Regions from separate parts of the Homo sapiens genome. Here region 1 is linked to region 2. Evidence: promoter capture Hi-C in 16 types of primary human blood cells and fetal thymus (Javierre and others, 2016). All regions are on one chromosome and are shown on one strand. The core of a region is centred on a gene start or on the middle of the fragment in contact, and the rest is flanking DNA. Distances in the headings are between cores, read along the strand shown.

What was found. The method cuts DNA at HindIII sites, captures the fragments that hold promoters and counts their contacts. A CHiCAGO score of 5 or more calls a contact.
Region 1: a fragment that was not itself captured here is called in contact with the fragment with the promoter of ATRX in region 2 in 1 of 17 cell types (naive CD8 T cells); the score reaches 5.1 in naive CD8 T cells.

Annotation. Positions count from the first base shown.
Region 1 is chrX:77,503,074-77,505,773 of GRCh38, forward strand. It overlaps ATRX (ATRX chromatin remodeler), which reads right to left. Exons shown (of 35, transcript NM_000489.6): 35 at 1,807-2,700. Among named protein-coding and RNA genes, the nearest start is that of FGF16, 57 kb to the left of the region's middle. The HindIII fragment of the contact is 1,712 bases long and covers 569-2,280 here.
Region 2 is chrX:77,784,883-77,787,582 of GRCh38, forward strand. It overlaps ATRX (ATRX chromatin remodeler), which reads right to left and starts at 1,334. Exons shown (of 35, transcript NM_000489.6): 1 at 1,100-1,334. The coding sequence starts at 1,119. RefSeq lists a silencer at 948-997 and enhancers at 1,098-1,207, 1,218-1,407. The HindIII fragment of the contact is 7,766 bases long and covers 1-2,146 here.

The sequences.
Region 1 (2,700 bases), core at 175-2,674, 280 kb before region 2:
CAAAGGCAGTAGGAAGCTCTGGGAGAGCCTCTGGGCAAAAGATAAAGGTTACAGCTAGTGGAAGTTGTAATTAGAGCCAATTACAACTTAACTTACCTGCTTTGTCATTAAAATGTCTGTCAGACCTCTCATTTTTCTACACAGAGGGAAAGAAAAGGTATAGCTTAGTAGGGGAGAGGGTTAGCCAAAGGGAAGGGATTTCTAGTACTGTTTACAAATTTACCCTGTAATCTTAGACAAACACATTGCCTTTTGGCTTTAGACTGTGCTTTGCTCAAAGTTTAACTCGGGGAGCTTAACAGGACTTAGGAAATCACCTGGTCTAGTCCCCTGCCTTCTAGCAGGCAAGGTATTATTATTGTCCCATTTTTCTCAAATTAGATATGAAAGACCTGGAAAATTTAACTAACTAGACTATGTCTTCTGCCTCCTTAAGTGCAACAGATTTGATTTTGGTTTCACTTATAACTTGTCATAAGGAAAATGGCATTATTTTCACTTCTCTCACAGATACGTTGTGTATAGGGTTAACACGATAACTACAAAGCACGTTGAAAATACTAAGGAAAGCTTATAAATATAACATTACCCACAAAGCTACTAGCACTTTGAATGAATGGGTCTCAAAGAAATGTAACAGAAATATTTGGATTTCACTTTTTTAAGAATTGGCTTGAGGAAAGAAGTAGAATTACACTCAATGGACCAATCTCACTTTCTGCAAATGTAAAGGAGTACAAAAAAAATTGAGAAAGAATAGGAATGTCGCTGACGAACATACCATTATGTTTGAGAGTAATCAGAGTAAGTGAATTTTGTGTGTAAAAATCAAAATTCTGAAACAAAGCCTCCTTAGGGGGAAAGTAAAATAACAGGTTTTTATTATAAGTATCATTGTAAAAGTTCACTATCCTATACAGCCTCTAATGATTTTTTTTTCTTTTGTCCTTCATACTTGGACCAATTATCTTCCTGTCTCCAATCTTCCACCTTGCATTCTAAACCAAATTACCCTCACCCAAATAGCCATCTTTACTTGCTAAACATTATCATCTGCCTCACAAACCCTTGTTATCCTCTGTACTGAATTACTCATTCAGGATTTCAAGGCTCTTCATCAATCCACTCCAATTTAGTCTCTTTCCCGATCCTTCTTTGCTCTCTTTCAGTACTATACTTTCTCCCCATATAACTAAAACAAATCCCATCCTTGCATATAAGCCATCTTTCTTCACCTTTCTTGAAAAACAACACATATACGACACAAGGAGCATAGGGATGGACCTGGGTATACTTAATAGGAAAGTCTCTTAATAGTCATTGTATTTGCAAAGCTGAAGATTACAGCCAAGCTCCCTCATCCCTTACATGTTTCTATCAGAGAAGGGTAGAATGTTCAGGAACTTAATGTGGGGGAGTGTTGCTGGGTAGAGATTGCTTGTGATATGCTGTATTAAAGACGGCCTGCCTGCAGTATTTTAGGATTTGCCTCACTCCTTCATTCTTTCAATTATAGTTGTATCCTTATCTTTACTAATGGCCTCAATTTATATGCTCTCTTTCTTGGTGAAGGTGTGTGCAACAGTCGCTATCAAAAAGATCCCTAGAAAGCGAGGAAGGATGATTCCCTTAGTTTAGTGGCACAATGGTGTCAGGAAGGTTGTTCCAAAGAGACGGTGGTAGTACCTATCATAATGGAATTTTATGGCAGCTCTTGGGGGTGAGCCACTATCCTGTTATTACATCCAACGCTAGTGATGTTAACAGTTTAGTTACCTGGCACATATTGAGCTTTGACACAGTATATATTTCGGATTTAAAACTTTATTCACCCCATATAATAGTATATATAAAATGTTGTGAAGATGAAAGCATTTCTGAAACTTGATCACTCCTTTGGGACTGGCTCAGATTATAGACTTGAAAAAAAATAACGGTAGAAAAATGTTTATTCTCTAAGGGTAGATCTGATTTGGAGATAGCCAAGTCACTTGAGACTGAGTCTGGTGAAATAAAGTAGTAAATACCCTGAACATAATTTTTAGTATAATAAACATGTAAAAGGATTGACCTGTTTTACTGGTAGAATAAGTCTCTATAGCCTCACAACATGCTACTCTCAAAGGAAACAAGGGCTACTGGGACAGAATGTAACTGCTCTTAAAGTTTTGTTTGGGGCACATAAATATCGATCTGATTTTATGATAATGGAGGGAAAATGAACATAGCTAAGGGAAGGCTACAAAATATTCAGCTCATTTGGAGGCCAGGTAATAAGGAAGCTTCTGAATGGTAAGCAGCTTTTCTATCAAGTGTGGGTTGGTAGCCCTGCTTGACTTAAAATGAGTGTTACAGCTGTTGGGAAACAGGAAATGGGGCTGGATTACACAAAGACATCCAAAACTAACACAAACACACATGGACTTCCTGGTATGTAAATTCTTTTTGAGATGAGAGATCTCCCTTTACAGAATTTAGTATATAACAGATTCAATAACCAAACTTCGTGACCTCTCAATATTAAATAACTAAATGTGCAAAAGAACCACCATTATATAGGACAACAAAAGCTATACATTTTCTATGAAACAGTATGTGCACAGATTTTCAAAGCTGTGAAAATACAATAAAGAGCACAACACATTTTGGTCACTTTATTAAATGACATTAAATAGTTTAAGTTTCAACTACTAAACAGCA
Region 2 (2,700 bases), core at 84-2,583:
CCATGCTCCTTGTAATTTTATTTTGCCACTGGACGCCAAGGATGCATCTCCGAGTAAAAAAATTACTTAATTCACATTGTGGGATGAAAATTCAAATGTCAAACTGAAACGCCAGCCAGCCACCTGGGTAAAAGTGTATACATTTCATATTGACTACCCAAATTTTCAGACCCGTCAAGAGGCAAATCAGAAGCACACAGAAAAACAGCTTCAACCTAATAAACGTGCTTGATTGGTTAAGAGGAGGCCTGCCAGGCATTTTCCCTTGCAATAAATCTTACTTCGCATCAGCCCACGTTAACCTGCCCTTCATCCTTCATGGAATAAATAAGTAAATAAAGATAGGGCCTAATTACTCCTCGAAATTTGCCCAGAAAGTGGGGAAACACTTGAGGTCCCATTAAGGCTGGACATCACAAAAAGTAGTATACTAGGGTCCTCTGGAAGCAAAACCCTGTGTTAAGTCCCCCCTCGCCTAGAAATAAACCCAAGGATATCCTTCAGGATATGGAGTAGAAAAGATACCTAAATACCTGGAACTGCACCACAACCCAATCAAAAAAAGGCTTGTCTCCTGGGGCTGCAGAAAAAAAATCCCGCAGGGCCCGGGTGCTTCCCATCTCCAGCAACCTAAACGCCTCTAAGTCGTCCTGGGATCTCACATCCTCGCGCCCGCCCACCCCTCCCCCTCTTCTCACCCTCCCCCCGCTTCTTCCCCACGCAGTTTCTAGGCCCAAAGATTAGCAAAAATGACCGGGATACCAAAGACCGCCTCCGACTTCGAGGTCTCAATCCCACAGGCACCAAAGAATAAACAGAGGAGCCCGACCAAGCGTCACCGTTTAGGGGAGATTGCAAGAAGCGCCCCATACCCTAGGCCGCGCCCCCCCCACCTCCCCCCACCCCATCCCCACCCCCACCCCCGTCGGAGCCTTGCGCCGATACCCCGAAACCCTTCTCACCTAAAGAGAAAACGATGCCTCTTTCGGCTAAGCAACACACAGGCCTAACCCACCAAGCGAACGCCTTCCCAAACACCCGACTCAGACGGTGCCTGGGCCCAGACCGCTGGGGCCCATGAGACGGGGTTGCGTTTTACCTCATGGGCTCAGCGGTCATGTTTTCGCTTGAACGCCTTGTCGGCTTCTGTGATTGCTGGGCGCCGATCTGCGCTCCCCCGCGCCCGGTTACGATAGAAATGCACTGGAGTCTTAGTCGTCACTGTAGCTGCTGCTGGAACCTCCCCACAGCTCAAAGGCCGCTACCACTGCCACCGCCGCAGGAGCCGCGGAAACAAAGCGACACCGCTGCCGCCGCCATTTTGTTGGGCCGAGGCTCAGGCAGGAGAATTGGCGCGTCCTCCCTCTTTCTCTTTCCGTCAGCCATTGGCTACCTCCTCCAAAGCACAGAGTCTTATTGGCTACGGAAATTCACCTTCTTTGGGGGCCTGTTGCTAAGGCGGTCGACGTCATTTGATCCCCTCCACCTTTTCGCAGGGGGTCCAATTTAGTCCCAATTGACCTGAAAGTGCTAGTGACATAGTTTGACTTTATTTTGAAAATGCTCTTTTGGTCCAACCTCTTTTTTCTTTGACATATTAACGAAGTAATAACAGCAACCTACATTTATTGAGAGTTTACTATATGCTCGGCACTACACTAATCCTTTATCCGGGTTATCTCATTTAATCTTTACACTCTCTGAGGTAGACAAACCTACATTTTCCAGATGAGGAAACCAAGACACAAAGTCCCACAGTAGTGGAGCCGAGATTCACCAGACACTCTTAACCACTAATCTGTATGGCCATCCTATGTAAGTATTTTCTTTCCTATATGCTAGGCTATCATCAAGTTATTTGCTTTCCTAGATGTTTTATACATAATATTTGGCACACCAACATGCTTGGAAATGTATATGTGTATAATATACTTATATATATGTATATGTGTGCAGACGACATAAGACCAACTTGAACGCTGCATAAAATTCTTTCCATATTGAATAAAGTGTCTCTTAGAATACACACACACACACACACACACACACACACACACACACACACACGGGCCATTTCCCCAATTTGATGTGATGTTTAGCTCACAAACCAATCAATTTAGATCTGCTTCCTTCTCATTACAGAGGAAGCTTGGCTGGATGATCTGTAAATGCCTTTCCCGCTTTTATGATCTATAATTTGATTTTACATTGGTAATCTCTGCTAATCACAAACAAGTCCTCTAAAATCTAATCGCTTCGAAATTTATTTCCAAATTTATTCTGCCATGCATGCTTTAGTTCATTCTATTTATTTTTCTTGAAATATGCAAGAGCTCCTGTCGGGGTTAGGTGACAGGGTTGCTGCTTTCTACTGGGATAGCAAGAGGGGAGCCTTTTTTGAATGAAACACTTTGAAAATCTGATAGGCTCAGGCAACTTTTTTTTTTTTTTTTTCTGAGACAGGGTCTAGCTCTGTCACCCAGGCTGGAGTGCAGTGGCGTGACGCAGTTCACTGCAGCCTCGACCTCCTAGGCTCAAGCAATCCTCCCACCTCAGCCTCTCAAGCAGCTGGGACTGCAGGCGCGTGCCATCAAGCCCAGCTAATTATGTATTTATGTATTGGTATAGATGAGGTAGGTCTGTCTGTTGCCCAGGCTGGTCTCAAACATCTAAGCTCAAGCCATCCTCCAACCTCGACCT